Linked DNA regions of Homo sapiens: regions 2, 3 and 4 are each linked to region 1. The links are contacts of gene promoters, found by promoter capture Hi-C in blood cells and fetal thymus (Javierre and others, 2016). All regions are on one chromosome and are shown on one strand. The core of a region is centred on a gene start or on the middle of the fragment in contact, and the rest is flanking DNA. Distances in the headings are between cores, read along the strand shown. Region 1 holds the start of NNAT (neuronatin). Region 2 overlaps GHRH (growth hormone releasing hormone). Region 3 overlaps RPN2 (ribophorin II). Region 4 overlaps RPN2 (ribophorin II).

Region 1 (5,842 bases), core at 2,781-5,280:
CCTGTTCACCGCCTGTCCTGCCCCCTGCTCCCCCTCCCCCATCCCCACCATCTGCTCTCCAGAAAGCAGATCAAATTTTCAGGCTAAGGTACTCTGGCGCCAAAGACTCAGCCCCTCCATGCTTCCCCCTGCCCCCCACCAACTCCGAAATCCAACACCACGACCCAAATGGACTGCAGCCACATAAAACCACAAAGTAAAGTTTATAAAGCTTTATTAAACATTTCAAACAGCTGTGCAACGAACACACCAAATAAAAGCTCTAGAATAGCAGTCCAGACGTTTCACAAGTATGGCCTCACAGTCCCATTCCCTAGATGGACTGCCTCCAGTTCTGTTCTCTGCCTGGCCCATCTCTCTTTCCCCTCAGGCAAGAGAGAGATGGATGGATCAGACTGAAAGGACAGGCATGCTGATCTCCAGCAGGCAGGGGCCAGGAGAAAGTCTCGTTTGCCAACACTTGTTACTGAAGCGCAGAAAAAGCAGCAAGTGACAGTCACAAAGTCTTCCTGGGTATTCTTCATAATGTACAGTCTATATGCGCAGGAACGAAGAAGCTCCTGGCGGGAGGATGATGGCCACTGCTCCCCTCTGTCTTGTCTGAACCACCTCGGAGTCCAGTGTGCTGGTCACTCTGCAATCCCCATGCTAAATAAAAACTGTAGCGGCACCTACCATATATAGCTAGCTATTGCTAAACCTCAAAATCAGACCACGTTCGATAAAGCTTCTTTAAAAGGAATATACACATGTATTTGTACACACACACACACAGGGCACACCAAAAAATATCCAAACATCTATCAAGGGGATCAAGGCCGTTACGAAACACACAGGTACTCTCCCACTCACTCAGCTGGGGACTGCTAGAACTACGTGAACACACCATACTTCAATGCTGCAGAGCATGCACGGGAGACACAATGAGGCCCCCTCCTTGGGACAGTTGAGAAAGGCAGGAGGAAGGGCAAAGGAAGTGAGGCTGGGCGGGAAAGCTTGAGCCCAGACACCCAGGTGAAAGAGCAACATCTATCTGTTGCTTCCTTTCTTAAAAATGAAGTGGAGAAAATACTGAAGATTTGTGGACAACTAACAGTCAAGACATGTTTCTGTCTAGCCTGCTGAACAAGGAAAGAAGGATGAAAAAGCGAGGCTCTCGGGCGTCAGCAATCTCTTCAAATTCGAGATAAGTGCAAAAATGAGCCCTGTCTTGGACAGGTACTCCCCAAAAAAGGAAAAGGGTAGAAGAGAAATAAAGGGAAACCAGAAGAGGGACTGAGGAGTCAGTAACATTCTGGGAAGGAAGGAGACCCTGACAAGGAGGGGTCACAGAGGTGACAATGAGACTGGCATTTTATCTGCCCCAGGTCACATTGGGGCAGCTGACCAGGATGGACCCAGACTCCTCACAGTAATGAGGCGAGAGGGGTGGTCATGCGGCCAGCCAGGACCTAGATGGGGACAGAACACACACAACCACAAGACCACCCACGACTATAGGACTTTACAATAAAAGCACCGGTCAGTGCCATTATTCACATTGTAAGGATAAAACATCACAGGCCAAAAAGGCGCCGTCAGGAATGTGACACCCGCGAGGCTGCGGGATTTGAAACTCCAATGCTTTATGACCTATGTCAATGCCTCCCCTCCCGTCTTCTGCTTCCTTGGAAAGCTAACAGGGCAGGCCGTTAGGTGCCCACAACGCCGGGATCATGCGCCGATTCTGGAAGCGGGGAATCGGAGCAGTGGTACAGGAAACAGTTTCCCCAGCAGCTATAGCAGATAAGGAACAGGGCTGCCAGGAAAACCAAGGCACAAATTGTGCAAGGCTTCCGTTCCAGGAGGAAGCTGAGCAGGTAGAAGCCCATGAACATGGAGTGGCTGAACCACAGGGCGGGGTTGAGGGGCTTGGGGATGAGGAGGACGGGCAGCAGCCACTGGAGGCAATACATGATCTCTGCCGGGCAGGGCCTTCACCAAGGCTGCCGGGCACCGCTGCAGGAACCGACCTAATGGGAGCCAGCGGGCGCAGGCGGCTGCCCTCCGCTTTCTTCAACCCTCACTCTCCAGGAGCTGAGCCGCTGTGCTCTCTGGCTGTCAGCCCGGGATCACCAAGGCAGCAGGGATCCTGAAGAGAAAAGTCAACACAACAGACAAACAGACAAAGAACAGACAGACAGACAAAAAAAAAAAAAAAAAAAGAAAAAAAAAAAAAAAACAGGAACAGAATGTATACTTATTTGGGAAAATGGATCATGGTTAACAACAGCAAATGTGAAATGCCCTTTCCTCCCTGCCCACCCGTGAAAGTTCTACTCCTCTCCAAGTCACTAATTCGGGAAGCTTCCTGGGATGTCTCCCCGGGGCTTCTCCTGGGGGATCGGGGAGAGGGCTCTTTGGCACGGTTTCACACAGTGGGCTGGCTTTGCCTGGGCCCTGCCCAGCAGAGATCATGTATCGCCTCCTGGGGCTGCAGCCCGTCCTCAAGGGGCCCAGACCTCACAATACCGCCCAGTGGTTGCCAAAGGACGACCAAGGGCTCCCTGCTGTGCCCCCACGTGGTAAGGACAGGGTTCTGTATCTAGCATCTCTCACAGCCATAGGTGCTCAGGCACTAAGTGCAGAGTTAAAGCTGTTAGCGGGGCACTGCCGGCCACCAGACCACAGGCAAAGGATCCTGAGGCAGCTACAGCCTCGAAATATTTTAAGATGGCAGCCTAGGCTAAGCTTGCCTTTTTCAAACAGCCCAGCGTCACTTTGCCAGAATCTGCCAACTTCTCCGAAAGTCAATGTAGAAAAAAAGTCACTATGCTACTTTGTCCAAACTGAACTCGTTTGGATCATTACACCTCCATCTGCTGCTGGCACTGTATAGAACCTGACCTCTGGGAGCTTTTAATGAAAATTAATTTTCTATCCACATAGGGGCAAATGCCAGTTGGTCCCTGGGCCAGGCAGCTTGCTGGAAAGAGGTGCTTTCGGCTGGCTACCGGTGCGCGGGGACCACACTCACAAACCGCATTCCGGTCTTCCCGCCCGAAAATCCGCGCTGTGCGAGGGACCCACAAGACTGGCGGTCTAAAAGGGACCCGCCTCACTTGGAAACGGGGCTGCGGTAGCCACAACCCTCCGGTAGCGGTAGCGTAACCCCGTTCGGTGATCCAGCCGCACAGCGCAACGGGTACAAAGAACCCCACTGGCTAAGGCCGACCTACCAGGGCTTGGGGGAGGGGAGCGGAAGACTGAGGTCGAAACGACCTGTCCAGCAGAAAACTATCCCCAAGCATATTCCAACCACTTCTCCGTAGAGCTCATTCCTTCCGTGCATACGAAGGGCGCCAATCCTTCCTGTATCCCTCCTACAGATACCGGGTGACTACTGCTTTTGCGCCCAAAGCGCAGTGCTCTGGCTCAGCTCCCTACAGTAGCGACCTCCACCGCAGATTCTCATCTCCTCGCTACCGTAAGAGAGATGTAAAGAATCAGACGGGTTACGCGCTCAGGCACCCTCATGAAGCAGAGGACCTGGGCTTAAAACTCATTCAGTATCAGGAAAAGAGCGCCGAGCACGGGCCTATTATGCCAAAGCTTCTGAAAGGGGCACCACGTTTTTTGCTCTATGGGGCAGATGACCCCTCCCTAATTTCGGTTTTCCATCCATCCCCAAGGTAGGCTTTGGAGTGGCACCGGAGACTGAGCTCAAATTTGCAGGCCAGGGACTGGGGAGAAGGGCGCCACACTAAGAGACCTGCACCCCCATTCTCGCCCTGTACTCTACCCAGAGTCGTGGTACCCCTCCATTTTAAAGCAAAATCCAAAAGCAAGCACGGCGGAATCTTCTGGAAGGGGGCTAAGATGGAACTCAGGAGGCGGGGGTCGGTATGGAAAGAGCAGATGGATTATTTTTTTCCTCTCCTGGCGAATGAGGAGCGCCCCCAGCCACCCCTCCTCATAAACACCCCCCAAGGCGCGCATGCGCACTTAGGTGGCGGGCGGGTACTTAAGGCGCGGCCACCGCGGCTGCGGCAGTGCGCCCAACAGCGGACTCCGAGACCAGCGGATCTCGGCAAACCCTCTTTCTCGACCACCCACCTACCATTCTTGGAACCATGGCGGCAGTGGCGGCGGCCTCGGCTGAACTGCTCATCATCGGCTGGTACATCTTCCGCGTGCTGCTGCAGGTAAGTCTGACGGGGTTTCGGGTGGGAGAGGGTTCCCAACTCGCGCCCCTAGAACCCGCAAGACTGCGTCGCGATTGCCGCTTCCCGGACCCGTCCTATTCCGATTGCCGCGATCCTTGCCTGCCCAAGTGCCGCTGCCGGCACCGCGCGCCCCCTGCCCATTCCCTGCGCCGTCCTCCTCGCGCTGACCCTCCCTAGTGCGCCCGCGCCTGCCAGGGAACAAAGACTCGGGGCGCGGCGGGCGACCGCTGCGGACGATCACCCAGGCATTTAGCGACCTACGCGGTAAGAAAAACCCGCTACACCCGGACTCGACCCCAGGAGGGAGGCGGGGCACTACTGTGTTGAAAGACTTTACAGCTCGCAGAGTGAAAATTTTCCACCTTAAAAAATTGCGCATTGCGGAGAAATTTTATTTAAAAAAACATATAGCGCTTGCGGGGGTGGAACAAAAAATAAGTTAGAAAAAGGCACTTCTCAGAAAAAATAAAAATTACTTCGCAAAAAAAAAAAACCCTACAACGAATTAGAGAAAAAGTAGTTCACAGGAAAACAGAAAAACGCGCATTGCAGGAAAAATAAATCGGAGAAAAGCACTTGGCAGAAAAAAATGCATTAGATTAAAAACGCACTGCAGAAAAAAATTAGACAAGGGAGCTAACGGAAAAAAATGGATCGGGCAAAAACGCTTTAAAGAAAAAAATTAGAGGAAAAAGCCCCTCGAGAGAAAAATAGAAGGGGAAAAAAAGCACTTCCAAAAAAGGACAATTGCTTTACAAAAAAAAAAATAATAATAAAAAAAATAAAAAAGAGGCAAAAGCGCTTGGTGTAAAAAGAGATAAATCAGAAGAAAGCGCTTTGCCCATAAAATCATTTACCCTAAAAGCTCCCTTTGCAGGAAGAATTCCCTGCTAAAGGAATCCTTTGCCAAAGGAATCGCATATTTCCTTCAAGGTGTTCCTGGAATGCTGCATTTACTGGGTAGGATTCGCTTTTCGAAATCCTCCAGGGACACAGCCCATTGCGAGAAGTGAGGTATACCTAAGTTGTGGGTCCAATCAGCTTGCCGCCATGCAGCTCTCAGCACAGTTGGAAAAGCTCCAGCTGCCCTGACTCGTGGACAAGCTGCGCCCGCGCCCGCCTCTCCAGCCTACGCTGGATGGGCGGGCGGGGCAGGGGGTGGGGCGGGGGTGGGCACGGCAGCACCACAGACATGCTGTGGGTGCTCTCCACTAAGGGTGGGTCCTGGGTTTCTCGTCGCAGGTGTTCAGGTACTCCCTGCAGAAGCTGGCATACACGGTGTCGCGGACCGGGCGGCAGGTGTTGGGGGAGCGCAGGCAGCGAGCCCCCAACTGAGGCCCCAGCTCCCAGCCCTGGGCGGCCGTATCATCAGGTGCTCCTGTGCATCTCGGCCAGCACGGGAGCCAGTGCCGCGCAGGAATGTGGGGTCCCCTGTGTTCCCTCGCCAGAGGAGCACTTGGCAAGGTCAGTGAGGGGCCAGTAGACCCCCGGAGAAGCAGTACCGACAATGACGAAGATACCAGATCCCTTCCCAACCCCTTTGCACCGGTCCCACTAAGGGGCAGGGTCGAGAGAGGAGGGGGGATAGGGGGAGCAGACCCCTGAGATCTGGGCATAGGCACCGCATTCTGATCTGG
Region 2 (5,767 bases), core at 1,112-3,611, 270 kb before region 1:
GCCTACTCAACTTCCTCACTTGGACCTTTCATAGGCACCTCACACTCAACATTCAAACCTAAACTCTTAATATTCCCCCAACCCCCAAAGCTGCTAAGTGGCAACTCCATCCTCCCATCCTCCATCCTTGGGCCAAAAACTCAGGAGTCATTCTTGACTTCTCTCCAATCCCTACACCCTGTCTATCAGCAAATGGCTTCCGCCCTAAGAATGTATCTAGAGTTTGACCATTTCTCAGAGTGATTTTCAGCATAGGTCACAGCATGTCATTCTTCTGCTTAAACTCCACCATGGCTTTCATCTCACCAAGTTTGGGATCCAAATCCTTACTGTGACCTTGTTAAAGAACATTTATGGGAGGCCGCTGTTTTGAACTGAGCTCTTGCACTAGGCGGGCCCCAACAAACCAGACCCAACCAGAATAGAGTCACCCATGACATACTAAGTGCCATGTCATCAAACAGAACTTTAAAATGGTCCAGTTTTCTGAAATATGAGATTCACAGCAGCCAATCAGAAGGGGTCCAGTTGGGACAGGCACAGTGGCTCACGCCTGTAATCCCAGCACTTTGGGAGGCTGAGGCGGGTGGATCACCTGAGGTCAGGAGTACGAGACCAGGCTGGCCAACATGGTGAAACCCTGTCTCGACTAAAAATACAAAAATTAGCCAGGCGTGGTGGCAGATGTCTGTAATCCCAGCTACTCGGGAGGCTGAGGCAGGAGAATTACTTGAACCCAGGAGGCAGAGGTTGCAGTGAGCTGAGATCATGCCACCACACTCCAGCCTGGGTGACAAAGCAAGACTCTGTCTCAAAAAAAAAAAAAAAAAAAAAAAAAGGAAGGGGTCCAGTCTACTTTAGCTTGCATAATCAGGAAGTCCCCTCTGCTTTAACCCCAGAAGGAAGGTAACTTTGAAATGACCAATCTGCTTTTCGTGCCCTGTTTCTGCTTCTTTAGCCCCTTTTTGCCTGTAAGGCCCACTCCCACTCAGCTTATCAGAGTCCCCCTCAGGATGCTGCCCAGTTCATGAACTGCTAACAAAAGCCAATTCAATCTTTAAAACTCTATTTGGGTTGGGGGTGGTGGCTCACACCTGTAATCCCAGCACTTTGGGAGTCTGAGGCAGGTGGATCACCTGAGGTCAGGAGTTCAAGACCAGCCTGGCCAACCTGGCGTAAACCTGTCTCTACTTAAAAAAATACAAAAATTAGCTGGGTGTGGTGGCACACGCCTGTAATCCCAGCTACTCGGGAGGCTGAGGCAGGAGAATCATTTGAACCCTGGCGGTGGAGGTTGCAGTGAGCCGAGATCGTGCCAGTGCACTCCAGCCTGGGAAACAGAGTGAGACTCCATCTCAAAAAACAAACAAACAAACAAACAAAAAAAACACTAAAGAGTCAATTTGTTCCTTTTTTTTTTTTTAACACCTCCAAGTGTCCCCATGAGCCGGCCTCCTGCTCCTCCAGGACTCTTTTCTTTCCACTGACATCCTTGCTCTGGCCCAGGTAGCCACATTGATCCCCTTGCTAGTCCTTCCACACTGCTGCCTCTAAGCCTTTGTTGAGTTTTCACTCTGCCTGAAATGTTCTTTACTCTGATATTTACAAAGCCAACTCCCTCTCTTCCTCAGGTCTTTACTCAAATGTCACATCATCAGTGAGGCCTTCACATATACACAGTGTAGATCAAATTATACCCCCAGCACTCCCTGGCCCTTTAAAGCTTTATCCTTTGCACTTGCCAACATCTGACATATTCTATATTGACTTGTGTTTATTATTCTCTCCCCCACCACACACGCATTGGAATATAAGCTCTATAAGGTCAGGGACTTTGTTCATGACTATCTCTCCAGTGCCCAGAACAGTACCTGGCACAGAGTGGGTATTCTATAAATGTTTGCTGAATGAAGGCCGGGTGCAGTGGCTCACGCCTGTAATCCTAACACTTTGGGAGGCTGAGGCAGGCAGATCACCTGAGGTCAGGAGTTTGAGACCAGCCTGACCAACATGGAGAAACCCCATCTCTACTAAAAATACAAAATTAGCTGGGCGTGGTGGCACATGCCTGTAATCCCAGCTACTCAGGAGGCGAGGGCAGGAGAAACACTGGAACCTGGGAGGCGGAGGTTGTGGTGAGCCAAGATCATGCCATTGCACTTCAGGCTGGGCAACAAGAGTGAAACTCTGTCTCAAAAAAAAAAAAAAAAGTTTGTTGAATCAATAAGTGGTATTGCTTATAGAAGAGCAAATCACACGTGGGTGAAGGATGACTTTGATCGAAGTTAGTTGAATGTGGTTAAGAGCTGGTTCTGAGTTGGACTTGCCTGGATTTGAATCCCAGCGCTCTCATTTGCACGGTGTGACTGTGGGCAATTTGGTTACACTTTCTGAGCCTCAATTCCTTGTCTGTGAAAGGAGGAGGATACCAGTACCCTCCATCAGCCTGTGTAAGGAGCATATGAGATCCTATGCATGAAGCTGCCTGGTTTGCACTCTGCGTGCTTGGTAAATGTTAGCTTTAAAAAAAATTACACCTCGTAATACCACTTTGGGAAATGTAACTATGTAAAACACATAAAAAATTAGGCTGAAGAGAAAAGAACATTTAAATGCACACCGGTATGGGGGAATTTTATTGTATTTTCAAAGGAAAAAGTGGGTCAGAAATGAGAGGATTAACTGGATCCAGTTGCATTTTGGCTACAGGTAGCCCGGGTCACAGGAGGAATCTTCATCCCTGGGAGTTCCTGCTGCAGAAAGAAAGATCAAGCTCAATCCGGGGAATTGAAGTAAGGGTGGCTAGAGTGGGATGCATGGAACCAGGGTGACGGGTGCTCCCGTGACAGGAGCTGGCCTTTTGGATTCCAAAAGAGGCAGTGTGGGGTGGAGGGAAGGATGCGCAAGCATGCCAGCAAGGCGAGTCCCAGGCTTAGCCCCTGCTCTCTGCTCTGCCAGCCAACTCCCACCGAGACCCTGGGCCAGTCACTTCGCCTTGAAGAAGCTTCCTCTAATCCCCAGACAGGCTCAGCGTTCTCCCAGCCTCACCATCACCACTCCCCAGCATCTCTTCCCATTCATCACAATGAAGTAATTGACTGTACAAGAACGTGTCTAGTTCCTTGCTGCTTCGGTGTGTTATGAATTCCATGAGAGCAGGGGTCGCTGCTGTCCTGTACCCTGCTATGCCTCTGGTCCAGAGTGTGGCATGTCATAGTCACTGGATGGTCTTTACAGGGGTGGGAAGATGGCTAAACCCGAGCCTCAGTTTCCTTACAGGGCTGTTACGTGGACACAATGTATGATGGCTGCAAAAGTGTGCCATCTGTCACATGGCTCTACTCTGCACTCTAAAGCAGGAACTTATTCCTGCTCACCAGTGATATCCTGGTATTTGCAGCAGTTGAGCTGGAGGGGGAACAATGGCTATAGCAGCCTTCGGGGCCCTTCCTGCCAGCTCTGCGGGCTCTGTGATTTCAATCTCCGTGAAGCCTCTGGCTTTTAACTCGCGGGAACAAAGCCTGCATTCTTAGGATTAGCCCTCCATGGAGCCATCCACCCTACTGGGGCCTGATGAGAGCCATAGCAGGTGAACAATTACTTAATCCCAGCCTGCAAGGCACAGAGGAGGCCTTCTTCTTAGAGACATTATTTTTGAACTCTTGTCTTGCGGACCCTAGAGATGGTAAGAGCTAACCCCTCCTTTCACAGAGTCGAAACGAAGAAGTGTGTTGCTGTGCCGCTAGTTGCAGAAACAGGCCTGGGGCCCAGGTGTTCTTCCCGCCTCCCAGACTGGTTGTCGCCTCTCCTGTCATCTGCCGTAGGCCTGGTGCTGCTTGTAGGTGGTGAAATCTCTGGGCTGGTGGTGTCTAATCGGGTTGGGAAGAAGGTGAGAGAGGCCATGGAGCGCTCTGCTGGGAACTGGATTTGCTTAATAGCTTGGACCAGAAGTGCCCAGCAGAGCCACACTGGGACCTGCTTGTGCTCGCAGTTAAATCAGGCTCTAGGCCGGGTGCGGTGGCTCATGCCTGTAATCCCAGCACTTAGGGAGGCCATGGCAGGTGGATCACCTGAGGTCAGGAGTTCGAGACAAGCTTGGCCAGCATGGTGAAACCCCATCTCTACTAAAAGTACAAAAAATTAGCCGGGCGTGGTGGCGGGTGCCTGTAATCCCAGCACTTTGGGAGGCCATGGCAGGTGGATCACCTGAGGTCAGGAGTTCGAGACAAACTTGGCCAGCATGGTGAAACCCCATCTCTACTAAAAGTACAAAAAATTAGCCGGGCGTGGTGGCGGGTGCCTGTAATCCCAGCACTTGGGGAGGCCAAGGAGGGTGGATCACCTGAGGTCAGGAGTTCAAGACCAGCCTGGCCAACATGGTGAAACCCTGTCTCTACTAAAAGTACAAAAATCAGCCAGGCATGGTGGCAGGCGCCTGTAATCCCAGCTACTCGGGAGGCTGAGAATCACTTGAACCCTGGAGGCAGAGGCTGCAGTGAGCCGAGATCACGCCACTGCACTCTAGCCTGGGTGATGAGAGTGAAACTCCATCTCAACAACAACAACAAATCAGGCTCTAAACCCCAGCAGAGTTTCTCCAAACAACCACGACATTTTTGGGAAACTTTGCCCATGAAGTGGGGGCTTTGTGCAAAGAAGTTCCAGGGAGGCAAAACAGGTCTGGGCCTGCCATTCCCTGACTTGGGGCCAGCTGCCGCCCCGTCTTTGCCTCACTTTTCCTCCTCTGTAGACTCCCAGGAGAAACGTGAGGGCCAGTGAGCTGGGGAACGACAGTCATCACGTCTCTCGTCTGCTGATCGTGTGTCTGCGCACACTCATCTACCACAGGGTGTGGGAGGGCTGGTCTGTCTTTGGCTTGATAGTTTTTTGAACTTGGCAAGGGAACCAGAGCATGCCTGTCAGTTCACCTGCAGCCGAATCCTTGGGAACACCTGTTAAAATTCAGATTTCTGGGTCGTATCACGGAACCATTTGGTGAGTAACATTTTTGGGCATGGACACTGAGCCTGGCCTCTGGCTCCGCACTGGGATACAGCCATGGATAAGATGCGGTCTCCATCAGACACTTTCCACCCTTCATGACTAAAGAACTCTCCTAATATTGATTGATTGATTGACTGATTGAGACGGGATCTCACTATATTGGGCAAGCTGGTCTCAAACTCCTGGCCTCCAGTGATCCTTCCCCATCAGCCTCCCAAAGTGCTGGGATTATAGGCATGAGCCACTGCACCTGGGCACTCCCCTAGTTCTTCTTCTTTTTTTATTTTAGACAGAGTCTTGCTCTGTCACCCAGGCTGGAGTGTAATGGTGCGATCTCAGCTCACTGCAACCTCCGCCTCCCAGCTTCAAGCGATTCTCCTGCCTCAGCCTCCCGAGTGGCTGGGATTACAGGCGTGAGCCACTACACCTGGCTCATTTTTGTATTTGTAATAGAGACAGGGTTTTGCCATGTTGGCCAGGTTGGTCTTGAACTCCCGACCTCAGATGATCCACCCACCTTGGCCTCCCAAAGTGTTGGGATTACAGGTGAGCCACCATACCCAGCCACTCTCCTAGTTCTTAATGTCTGTCAGGAGGGTCCTTGTTCTTGGTTTGTTTGGCAGAGCCCCATACCTTCAGAGAGGAGTGGATTTTTTCCTTTTCCTGGCAAACCACGGGGTAGGAAGCCCTGAAGTCCCTAGATGCACCCATGCACACACACCCATACCTGTGCTTCTGCAGCAGGGCCACCAGGATGCTCTCC
Region 3 (6,056 bases), core at 687-3,186, 300 kb before region 1:
GGGAGATCCCATCTCTACCAAAAATTTAAAAATAAATTAGCCATGTATGGTGGCATGTACCTGTCCCAGCTACTTAAGAGGCTGAGGCAAGCGGATCCCTTGAGCCCAGGAGTTTGAGGCTGCAGTGAACTATGATCACACTACTGCACTCTAGCCTGGGCAACAGAGTGAGACCTTGTCTCAAAAAAACAAAAAGCCTGGGCGCAGTGGCTCACACCTATAATCCCAGCACTTTGGGAGGCCGAGGTAGGTGGATCGCCTGAGATCAGGAGTTCGAGACCAGCCTGGTCAGCATGGGGAAACCCCGTCTCTGCTAAAAAAAAAAACAAAAAAAACAAAACTATGCAATCCAGTGTTTTTAGTATTTTCACAGACTTGTGCAACCCTTGCCACAATGCCATTCCAGAATATATTTATCACCCTGGAGAGCAATGCTATATCTTTTAGTGGGCACTCCTCATTCTCTCTTCCTACTTTCTGCTTTCTGTCTCTGTGGTTGCCTATTTGGGACATTTTGTGTAAATGAAATCATACAATAGGTTACCTTTTGTGTCTGGCTTTTTTGTTTTTTCACTTAACATAATACTTCTAAGGTTCATCCATGTTGTAGCATGTATTAGTACTTTATTTCTTTTTATGGCAAAATAATATTCCATTGTATGGATATATCACATTTTGTTTACCGACTTATCAGTTAATGACATTTGAGGTATTTCTCTTTTTTGGCTCTTATGAGTAATGCTGCTGTGAACATTTGTATATAACTTTTTGTTTGAACACTTGTTTTTGGTTCTTTCAGGTATATGCTTAGGAATAGAATTCCTGCGTCATATGGTAACTCGGTGTTTCACTTTTCAAGAAACTAACAAGTTTTCAAAGCAGCTGCACCATTTTACATTTCTACCAGCAATGTGTGAGGGTTCCAATTTTACTACATCCTCACCAACACTTGTTATTATCTGACTTTTTGATTTTCGCCATCGTAGTGGGTATAAAGTGGTGTCTCATTATGGTTTTGATTTCCATTTCTCTGATAGGTAATAATGTTGAGTATCTCTTTATGTGCTTATTGGTCTCTTGCATATCTTCTTTAGAAGAATGTCTATTCAAATCCATTGTCCATTGAAAAAAATGTTTTTGGTCTTTTTTTCTTCCTTCTACAATCTATACACCTCTTATTTCCTTTTATTTATCTTTTTATATTATTGAGTTGTAAGGGTTTCTCTGGTTAGAGGTTCCTTATTAAATACATGATTTGCAAATATTTTCTCACAGTCTGAAGGTTGTATTTTCACTTTCATGATGTTGTCTTTTGAGGCACAAAAAATCTTAATTTTGATGAAGTCCAGTTTTAAAATGTTTTGTTGTTGTTGTTTGTGCTTTAGGTGTCATGTCTAAGATGCCATTATGTAATCCAAGGTTAAGAAGATTTACTACTATGTTTTCTTAAAAGAATTTTATACTTTTGGCTCCTACCCTTAGGTTTCTGATTCATTGTGAGTTAATTTTTGTGTATGGTGTGATGTAGGGGGTCCAGTCTTCTTTTGCAGTTGTCCTAGACCCATTTGTTGAAAAGGCTGTTCTTTCCCTAACGAATTGCCTTGGCACATACATCCTTGTAGGAATCACTTGACAATAAATGTAAGGGTTGATTTCTGGACTCATAATTCTATTTCATTAATCTGTATTGTCCTTATGCCAGTGCCACGCTGTCTTGATTACTGTAACAGCTTGGCATTTTGTAACATCAAATCTGGTGTTTGTCCAAGTGTTTCTGTGATTGTTGGAAAAATTATCTAAGTACAAAATAGCAGAAATGGCTAATAGCTCTTGTTCATGCAATGATAATAAGCCCCCATTGAGGCCATTTACTCTCCTTTTCCTCCCTAGTGATGGAGTAAGCATTACAAAATCTTCTCTCTTCCTCCTTATTACATTAGAGGTGTGTGTGTTTGTGTGTGTGTGTGTGTGTGTGAGTGTGAGAGAGAGAGAGAGTCGGCTTTGACCTTTGCCGTATATGCAACTTTTCTTTGTAATTTCAGTAATAATCACACTTAGAGCCTCAGAGCAGGTCATTGGGTCCTGTTTGTCCTCCCAAGAAATGCTCGACATTGGTCAGAGTGCATTAACGGTGGTTTGGTGTGGAAGTCCTGTAATAGCCCTCATTGACATTGGACTGGCTGTCAGGGGAAGCATCGGTTTTGGACGCTCTCATTAGCATTAATTGCCCCTAATGCACCATCATTTTTGACAGTAATAAGCTAAACAGGGGTGTTATTACTCCCAGCAGAAAGACTGCATTTCCTGGCGTTAAAACATTTTTTGAGATGTATATGGCATGTGGTGCAGGCAAAGAAAGGAATAGCATGATCCAGTGTAAAGCAGGCTTAGCTGCATTTAAAGTGGAGAAATAAGTCCCTTTCCTATTATAAAAACGAATCCTGCATTGTTAGTTGGAAGGAAGAAGCAGCTAATCAACAGGGATCCTACACTGAACTCTTTAAAAGAGGGCTTTGGAAAAAGTTACGATTTTTATTTCTAAATTTGCTTTAAAAGAGTAGCATAAAAATGCTTTGCTTTTGAGTGTTTCCAGAGACCCATTTATAGTGAGATTTTAGGAGCAGAAGGATTTGTTTTAAACTGTTCCCTATTTAGGAACAGCCCTACGGGTGTTTATGTGCAACAATGAAAGCTGTAACTTAGGAAACCTTTTAAAATTGGGGCTGAGAGCAAACCAAGAATGATGCAAGTTCACTGCAGTTTGCCCTTTGCTCACTCCATGTATCTGCATTGTCTGGGGATGCTCAGGATGTCTTTAGAACACACACGAAGCTGGATCCTGATTAGCTGGCCTTGGTGGCCAGTTAGTGCTGAGAGTTTACAGCCAGGATTCTAAGTGAAAACCTAAAAGCTGATAGCTTCCTTATCACTATCATTAGGAGACACTGAAGACTTTACACAATTCTTTTTTTTTTTTTTTTTTGAGGCGGAGCCTTGCCCTATTGCCCAGGCTGGAGTGCAGTGGCATGATCTTGGCTCACTGCAACCTCTGCCTCCTGGGTTCAAGCCATTTTCCTGTCTCAGCCTCCTGAGTAGCTGGGACTACAGGCGTGCATCACCATGTCTGGCTAATTTTTTTGTATTTTTAGTAGAGACAGGGTTTTGCCATGTTGGTCATGCTGGTCTCAAACTCCTGACCTCAAATGGTCCTCCTGCCTCGGCCTCCCAAAGTGTTGGGATTACAGGCGTGAGCCACCACGCCCGGCCTAGTCTGTTCTTTTTAATTGCTCCATAGTAATTAATAATATGCATGTATCTTTCTTTATTTAGCTAGTCTTCTGTTTATGGACATTTCAGTAGGATGATGATTTCAAGATCACATTTACAGATTAAATGAATGAGTTCTTAAGAGAATGAGTTAGAGAAATAGGGAATTACCTAGTTAATCTTGATGAAGATTGCAGAGTAGTTAACTCTGAAGACAGATTATTTTTATAGCATGGAGTATTATTGCTAATCCTCCTACCTCTCCCAAAATTGGAGGGCTGCTAAGCCCATCAAGCCTCCTCCTCAGTCTTCTTGCTATGGAATGTTTCCTACTCCCCATTTGGGGCCACCCATGGGCAGACTTGGGTCACAGTTCCTTCTGTGCTTTCATAACACTTTGTACATCCATTAAAGCAGCAACCTGGTTTATTATAATTATGGTTTGTGTACGGGACAGGAAGGATTTCTTGCCATCTCTGTATATTCCCTGAATGGGGAAAGTGCTCTCAGCAGGTGTCAAATCAAAGCTCTGTGGCTACTTCTTTGCCTGAGCCTTCCATTCCAGTTTGTTTTCCAGTGGAAATGATGTCAGTACTTGTCGGGTTGTGTTTTTTGCAAGAAAGCTTGCTCTGGTTCTGAGCCTTGCGTGAGTTGTAACGCTGTTAACTCAGCAGAGAGCCCAAAGAGCCAAAGTGAGGCTCCTAGCTCCCTTCTTGGGGGTGTCTATTCAACCTGATGGGCCATCGTCCCTCCTCCTCCACTGCCATAATTTCACCCAGTTGCCTAGACTCAATGACAGGCAATGATCCTAAATATAGTTCTGCTATGAATTCATAGGTGGCTGTGAATTCAAAAGTAGATGGTAATATCCTTACAGCTTCTGGTAATAAACCTTTACAGTTTTTTTTTTTAAAGCAAAACAACACCCCTATTCAACATGATAATTGAGGCTGTTGTCATAAAATAGTTATTACAGAGGCAGGAAAGAAGGCCGTTAGAAGGAATTACTTGATAGGTATCTTTATTTTTAATTTTTCTTCTTTGCCCTTGATTTGAGGTTGTCACACCTCGATATGGTATTTCAGAAAACTGCCAGAGCTATCCTTCAATTATTTGCCCAGCCCGTTATCTCTATTCCTTGATCCTGACTTAGACTATAAACCAGTGGATTTGGCAAGGATTTCCTTAAGTGTTACATTCAAACCTATCAAATATTTGGAAGGCTTACAGATCTGTTTGCACATAAAAGCGCCTTGGGTTTGCATAATTTGCACATTCAAACTTGGGTTTTAATTCAGAAATTTAACATGTTTTCTGTCTCTTTTGGATATTTACATTGATTTTAATCTAATTTTAAAATTTCTCATTTATTGGCATTAGCCCCTCTTTGTGAAGATGTTTAAGGGACATACAGAATTCAAACACTTTAAGAGTCAACATGGATTGGTTTGTGCTTATAACAAACTCCCAATCTCAGTGGCTTAAAACAATGAGGGTTTATTTTTTCCCCACGCTAGATTCTTTAGGTGGTCAACTGGAGGCTCTGCTTCATGATATCTTTGCTCCAGGACCCTGGCTGAAGGAGCAAGCATCTGGACATTGTGTCCATGTCAGAGGAAAAGAGAGAATCACACATTGATTCTTAAAGCTTTCACTTCTGCCCACATTTCATTGGCCAGAGCAAATCATGTGGCCACACTTGACTCCATGGGGGCAGGGAAGTAGAATTCTACCACATGCTCAGAAGGAGAATGAGAAGTACTTGGGCAACAGTACAGATAACTACCATGACTGTCTAACAAGGAGCTGAAGTGCATGGATTCTGAGTCAGAGTGCCTGAGCTTGACACTGGCCTGATCACTTCCTCACAGTCTGATTTTGAGCAAAGCAGCTTCATCTCTCTCATCTTTTATTTCCTTATCTGAAAAGCAGTACCTTACAGAATTGTGAGGATTAAATGAGATAGTCTTTACAAAGCCAGTGCCTTTCACATGGTAAGCACTCAATAAATCCTAGCTATCATTAGAACCCAATTCTTGCTGATTTGAATGAAAGGTACTGCTTAAGGATTTTTCCCCTTATTTATTTTAAAGGACACATGAAAAGATTTACTTTTTTTCTTTTCCTTTTTCTTCTTCTTTTTTTTTTTTTGATGTTTACCATCCATCCAAAGCCAGAAAAAGACATTTTAGGCCTCGGAATGGGAGAGGTTGGAAATATTACTGGGCTGGGTCAGTGTTATTATCATCCTTGAAGACTCTTGTTCTAGGATTTTTTCATGCCTTTACTCACCTTAAAGAATAGAAAACTTTATATCTGCATGTGAATTCCTGAACACCCACCAATTGACCTGGCAACTGTCTTCTCTATTTTCCTCTAGCTCAGAGTCAAGATCTCCACTGAAGTTGGCATCACAAATGTTGATCTTTCCACCGTGGATAAGGATCAGAGCATTGCACCCAAAACTACCCGGTAGGTGAGATGCCACCTGATCACTCAGGGAGCTGAGGCTCAAGAGCTGAGAGGAGTATGCCTAGGCACTGAGCCCTGCAGGCATCAGTTCTGTGTCAGCAGCCATCCAGCTTACATCCTAAATTAAAGAGTCTGTAGTTCCACTGGTCCTGCACCGGGGATTCTGCGAATTATCTAAGTGGATTTGGAGATTGTATATACCAGTGTTTAGTCCATGCACAAACTATTTATTAACCAGTCCTCAACGAGGTAAAGCGCTTACCTCAGGATGTTAGTCTGAGTCAGTCAGCTATGTCACTAAGCATATTATTTAGTTC
Region 4 (6,193 bases), core at 3,688-6,187, 320 kb before region 1:
TGAAAGGCAGCGTGCTGCCCTTGCCCTCCACCCTGTCCTACTCTCCAGGAGCACCCCGCGCTTTTTTTTTTTGGTGGGAGAGGAGTCTCACTCTGTCGTCCAGGCTGGAGTGCAGTGGCACGATCTCGGCTCACTGCAACCTCTGCCTCCCGGGTTCAAGGGATTCTCCTGCTTCAGCCTCCTGAGTAGCTGGAACTACAGGTGAGCGCCACCGTGCCTAGTCTCCCCCCCACCTTTTTTTTTTTGAGACGGAGTCTCGCTCTGTCGCCCAGGCTGGAGTGCAGTGGCACGATCTTGGCTCACTGCAAGCTCTGCCTCCCGGGTTCACATCAGTCTCCCGCCTCAAGCCTCCCGAGTAGCTGGGACTACAGGTGCCCACCACCACGCCCAGCTAATTTTGTTTTTGTGTTTTTAGTAGAGATGGGGTTTCACCGTGTTAGCCAGGATGGTCTCGATCTCCTGACCTTGTGATCTGCTCGCCTTGACCTCCCAAAGTGCTGGTATTACAGGTGTGAGCCACCGCGCCCAGCCTTTTTCTTTTTTTTGAGACAGGATGTTGCCCTGCCACCCATGCCAGACTGCAGTGGTGTAATCACAGCTCACTGCAGCCTCAAACGATTCTCCAACCTCACCTTCATAAAGTGTTAGGATTACAGGCGTGAGCCACTGTGCCCAGCCAGCACCCACTTTTAACTGTTATTATTACCACATCTTTTTGAATAGCTGAATTTTATATTACTTCAGCCAAAATATTGGCAGTCTATTGATTTGATACTGTTTCTTGGAGTCGAGGAGAGTCGTAGTAGCGGGGGCTTGGCGATTTTGTGATGTGTTTCCTTTGTGCCAGTCACTGTGATGGGCATTTGGCAAAGTCCCTGATCTTGGGCCACTAGTCACTGGGGGAACTAGTAAGTGCAGTGTGGTACGTGCTTTGGGGGAGCACTTGAGAGGGTGGATACCTGGCCTCTCCTGGGAGGACTGTCAGGAAGAGGTGAACATCTGAGCAGAGTTGAAGATAGGACCTGGTTTGGCAGGCAGGAAGGACAAGGAAAAGGTGCTCCCGGCAGGGTGGGTAGCAGGGTCAAACACGTCAAATGGCGAGAGCGTGGTATAGCTGCAGGAGGCTAGAGGGTAAGATTTTGGAGTTGGAGTTAGGGCTATGGTGATGCAGGCAGCATGGAGAGGGAGGGTCAGTCTTGAGGGCATTTCATGCTGTGTCAGAAGTTGGATCTTGTCTGAGAAAAACAGGGAACCACTGAAGGGTTTTAAAGGTAAAGCAACACGGTTACACTTGTATTTTGTGAAGATCAGTCTTGAAGCAGTGTGCAGAATGGATTGCATGGCTTTAGACCGCTTAGGAGATGACTGACTGGGACAATGTAGGTGAGAAATGGCAAGGGCCTGCTGTAAGGCAGTGACAGAAACCAGAGGCGGGACTGGGCCTGAGAAATGAAAAAGAGGTAGACTTGATAGGCTTGGAGGGTGGGGAAAAGTCAAGGATGGTTCCCATGTTTCTGGTTTGGGTTGCTGGATGCATGGTATTACCTGTGCATGAGCTGGGAAGTCCTGGTGAAGAAATAGAAGGTTTTAAGCTCATTTTCTTTTTTATTTTTATTTTTTTGGGGGACTGGGTCTCGCTCTGTCTCCCAGACTGGAGTGTAGTGGCATGAACATGGCTCACTGCAGCCTCAACTTCAAGCAGTCCTCCTACCTCAGCCTCCCAGGTAGCTGGGACCACAGGCATGCGCCACCTGCTCTGCTACTTTTTGAATTTTTTGTGGAGATGGGGTCTTACCATGTTACCCAGGCTGGTCTCAACTCCTGAGCTCAAGCAGTCCTGCCTCAGCCTCCCAAAGGCCTGGGATTACAGATGTGAGCCACTGCACCCAGCGTTAAGCTCATTTTAGATTTGTTGAGCCTGACTTGGCCTTGGTGACATCTAAGTGGAGATGCCAGTAAAGTTGGAATCAGAAGAGACTGCCACTTGGTAGCTTTGTCACCTTCATCAGGTTACTTGCCAATTTGGAGCCCCAGTTTCTTTTTCAGGTAAATGGGGATAGTGATAATCTCTACCAAAGGATCATGTTGTTAAAAGGAAGAGCTTCCTAAATACCCAGCACAGTCCATGGCCAGACAGGTGATCCGGGAAGTGGTTTCCTTCTTTCCTTTCTAAGGTTCGGAAGGACTCAAGCGCCTTCAGGCTTATTGCTCTTTGTACGAAGTGAGCAATTTTGGGTAATACCGTGTCCTATGGAAAGTAACTACTTAACTAAATTCATGTAGCTCATTCCTTAAGCCATCTATAATGGCTGAGAATGTTATCTAAAAACGCCTTTGCTTTTCCTGGTTCACTACATGTGTCACCACTTAACATTGACTTTTCCCCACTGTGTAGAAAGCATGTACCTACATCAGATCTAACCTTGATCCCAGCAATGTGGATTCCCTCTTCTACGCTGCCCAGGCCAGCCAGGCCCTCTCAGGATGTGAGGTGAGTCCGGGTTCCTACGCTGACAATGACTTTAACTATTTAAAGTACATTTTTAAAGGGGAGGAGTCATGTCAAACATCCTTTTTTTAATTATGAGAGTCCATTATTGTGAGTGGGAATTCCATTCCTGTGATTTTTTTTTTCCTTAAGAAAGTATAGTTTATGTTTCTCCTAAGTTTTTACTTTTCAAGGGTTTTAAATAACCTTTTTGTACAGTTTTTGCTTTTCTTCTGGTAGGTCTTGATTTTTTCCTTTCCATCTGCCTTTAACACGTAAAAATGTTCAAAGTGTACCCCCACACGAGGTTTCTGGAAGTCATTTTGTTGAACATAGGAGAACCATATAAGTAGAAAGGTAACTTGTCAGCATCTTTTCACATGGGAGTGTTGTACCGAAGTTTTGCAAACATTTCATCCTGGTGTCTGGGGATTAGAGGGGGATGAGCATGTGCGAGGCGGAGGTGACTTTGGCAGCTGCTCCGCATTCTGTCTTTGCCATGCCTGCCACAAATTGCCAAGACCTGTTCTAAAACTCTGTGTCTGCCAATTCTTTCTTAGATCTCTATTTCAAATGAGACCAAAGATCTGCTTCTGGCAGCTGTCAGTGAGGACTCATCTGTTACCCAGATCTACCATGCAGTTGCAGCTCTAAGTGGCTTTGGCCTTCCCTTGGCATCCCAAGAAGCACTCAGTGCCCTTACTGCTCGTCTCAGCAAGGAGGAGACTGTGCTGGCGTGAGTTGTCATCTCGAGCATTTCTCAGGCTTCATTTGTCTCGGGTCCTATCCGAAGAGGGCTCATTCATTGGTTCAGCAAATACTTTCTGGGCAAGTACTTGCAGTAAATACTTCCGTGTGCCAGGTGCTCTGCAAGGCACCGCAGACATGATTGCATGAAGGCAAGTAAGGTCCGTGTCCTCGTGGAGCTCACATGGACACAGTCTTCTGCAAGCCTCGCAGACAGAAGGCAAGCGCTGAGCCAGAGCATGAGCACACCACCACCTAGAGATCCAGTTGCCTTGTGCGGTTGGAGGGCTAGAGCAAGGGCAGATAACTGAGAAGGAGCCACGTGCATGTCTTGTTGAGGCTTGGCTAGGGCAGGATGACATGTTGGCAGTGGAGGCTCTGCAAAGTGGGGGCTCTCAGGATCCCTGGAAGTTGTGAAAGACAGCATCTGGTGGGTGAGGTGGTTGCTCAGAGGGTGGAGTATTCTAGGAATCAGACTCTACTACTCTGCAAAAGGCTTAGGTGAAGGAGAAGCACCTTTCCTATTTGTTATAAATGGAAATATTGTAACTTCAGGGTGTTTTTTGCTAAGCTCTTAAGTGATAATATATGTAGTTTTAAATTTTTATTTATTTAGAGACAGGATCTCACTCTGTCACCCAGGCTGAAGTGCAATGGTATGATCAAACTCACTGCAGCCTTGAACTCTGGGCTCAAGTGATTTTCCTACCTCAGCCTCCCGAGTAGCTGGACTACAGGTGCAAACTACCACGCCTAGCTAATTTTTTTTTTTTTTTGAGACGTGGTCTTACTCTGTTACCCAGGCTAGAGTGCAGTGACGCGATCTCAGTTCACTGCAACCTCCGCCTCCCGGGTTCAAGCAGTTCTCCTGCCTCAGCGTCTTCAGTGGCTGGGATTACAGGCGCGCCACCACGCCTGGCCAATTTTTGTATTTTTAGTAGAGACAGGGTTTCACCATGTTGGCCAGGTCTTGAACTCCTGACCTCAAGCAATCTACCTGCCTTGGCCTCCCAAAGTGCTGGGATTACAGGCGTGAGCCACAGCGCCCGGCTGCCCAGCTAATTTTTTTAGTTTTTAGTGGAGATGGGGCCTGTCTGTGTTGTCCAGGCCGGTTGTAATTTTTTTTTTTTTAACACTTAAACTGCTCCTTTAAAACAATATTTTTTTTGTCATTTTATTTGTGTTCACCGTTTCACTGCAAACCCTGAAGGAGGGTGTGGAGCACCGTTCTGGAATCCCGTTCGTTGTTTAGCAAGAGGTTGGTGATACCAAATCCCCCTTTCAAAACAGTGAGATTGTTTCCCAGGTTTTTTTGTTTGTTTTTTGTTTTTTTGCTGACAACCAGATTTTCTGTAAACTTAAAGCTTTGTTAAGGACAGGGTTCACAGGCAATTGACATTCCCTCTCTGTCCCTCCTCACACCCTCCCTATATTCACATGGTCAATCATCAGTGACTCTAGGGCTGACATTTTGTACACACTTTGTCCAGTGCTTGGCCCTTTTGGGCCTTTGATTTCAGGTGACATATTTTGATATCTGCTTTTAATCCCTCATGGGGAATGCTTCTCCAGTCACCATCATCTCATGCCATGATGCCACTGTTAGTGCCTGTGCCTTACTTTGATGCTACCTTCTACAAAAAAAATTCCCATTTCCTTCCAAGCAGAAGGGAAAATCCCCTTCCTCAAAACCCCAGAACCCCAGGAAGAAGTACAAGGGAAGTACGTCCACTTTGGAGTCAGACAGACTTAGGTTTGAACACCAGCTATTTCATTCCTTGTGTCTGACTTTGGCCAAATTTCTAACTTCTCTGAGCCTTGCCTTTAAAATGAAACCCATAATTCTTACATCAAAGCAACTGACAGGATTAAATGAGATAATAGGTGTGAAGACCCTAGCGCAGTGCCTGGTTCTTGGTGGGCGTGTAGGAAACGGAGTTCCTTTTCTGGACCATTTGTTTGTTAGGTCCCTAACAAACAGGTCCCCCTTCTTAGAGAGTTTGTTACTTCCTTCGTTGTTGTTATTTGTATGTTAGGTCATAAGCTTTTTTTTTTTTTTTTTTGAGACAGGGTCTCACTGTGTCATCTAGGCTGCAGTGCAATGCGATCATATTTAAAGCTCACTACAACCTCAAACTCTTGGGCGTGAGCGATTCTCCCACCTTAGCCTTCTGAGTAGCTGGGACTATAATCACATGCCACCACACCCAGCCATAAGCTTTACTTGCAGTGCTTAGAGAGCCTGGCACATGGTCTGTACCCAACGGAGTTAATAAAGGATGAAACTATACTTTTGTGTTTCTGTTGTCTTGTAGAAAGCTCATAGGTAGGAAGAACATACGCTTTGGAGCAGAAAGAACTGTGTTCAAATCCATTCTTCTACTCAACCTCTGTGACCATGAGTGGGTTGTTTAGCCCGCCTAAACCTCAGTGTTCTCATATGCAAACCTGGAGAATGTCTCGTAGGGTCATTGTGAAATCCAACTGGTAGGTTGCCTTATATTACTACTAATTTGCGCTATTAAAGGCAAGCTGATATAAATTAGAACTCTTCTGAATGGGCCTTCTATATTTAAATGGGCTTTTTCTAGGAAGTGTATATTTGTAAACTTGTCTTGAATGGAAAAAAAGAAAATACTTGTAGATTTGAATGAACCACCTGAGAAGATCTCATTGTAGTCTGTCATAAATCAATTTCTCTGAATCATCTGCTATATATTAGCAAGATAAGATCTGCTTTCTTAGTGTTCGAATACAGTACTATGCTCCAGAGAAAAAGAAATTGCTGGCTGGGGAATAAGTAATTAAAGCCAGTGACAAAACTTTCTAAAACTCAGTGGATTAATTTCATTCTAAAACTTCTGAGGTTGTTACCAGCACGGCACTCTCTCATTCCAAAGAGAAAAAAATGATATCTTAATTGAGAAGTTCTTTCTAGGCTATCTTAACTGCCTTTTC

The links. Contacts are between HindIII fragments. The CHiCAGO score rates a contact against its expected background, and 5 or more counts as called.
Region 2: a fragment that was not itself captured here is called in contact with the fragment with the promoter of NNAT in region 1 in 8 of 17 cell types (M1 macrophages, endothelial precursors, M0 macrophages and 5 more); the score reaches 10.5 in M1 macrophages.
Region 3: a contact is called between a fragment that was not itself captured here and the fragment with the promoter of NNAT in region 1, in 7 of 17 cell types (monocytes, M1 macrophages, M2 macrophages and 4 more). The highest score is 8.2, in monocytes.
Region 4: a contact is called between a fragment that was not itself captured here and the fragment with the promoter of NNAT in region 1, in 17 of 17 cell types (monocytes, naive CD8 T cells, activated CD4 T cells and 14 more). The highest score is 20.5, in monocytes.

Annotation. Positions count from the first base shown.
Region 1 is chr20:37,517,220-37,523,061 of GRCh38, forward strand. NNAT (neuronatin) reads left to right here and starts at 4,031. Exons shown (of 3, transcript NM_005386.4): 1 at 4,031-4,184; 2 at 5,139-5,219; 3 at 5,448-5,842. The coding sequence starts at 4,113. The coding sequence ends at 5,540. BLCAP (BLCAP apoptosis inducing factor) reads right to left here. Exons shown (of 2, transcript NM_006698.4): 2 at 198-2,131. The coding sequence starts at 1,955. The coding sequence ends at 1,692. RefSeq lists enhancers at 1,376-2,239, 2,240-3,103. The HindIII fragment of the contact is 15,256 bases long and covers 3,590-5,842 here.
Region 2 is chr20:37,248,479-37,254,245 of GRCh38, forward strand. GHRH (growth hormone releasing hormone) reads right to left here. Exons shown (of 5, transcript NM_021081.6): 4 at 5,732-5,767; 5 at 2,608-2,753. The coding sequence ends at 2,735. Among named protein-coding and RNA genes, the nearest start is that of GHRH, 10 kb to the right of the region's middle. The HindIII fragment of the contact is 1,281 bases long and covers 1,722-3,002 here.
Region 3 is chr20:37,218,231-37,224,286 of GRCh38, forward strand. It overlaps RPN2 (ribophorin II), which reads left to right. Exons shown (of 17, transcript NM_002951.5): 10 at 5,648-5,739. Among named protein-coding and RNA genes, the nearest start is that of GHRH, 41 kb to the right of the region's middle. The HindIII fragment of the contact is 3,903 bases long and covers 1-3,888 here.
Region 4 is chr20:37,196,002-37,202,194 of GRCh38, forward strand. RPN2 (ribophorin II) reads left to right here. Exons shown (of 17, transcript NM_002951.5): 3 at 2,396-2,491; 4 at 3,049-3,224. Among named protein-coding and RNA genes, the nearest start is that of MROH8, 20 kb to the left of the region's middle. The HindIII fragment of the contact is 680 bases long and covers 4,598-5,277 here.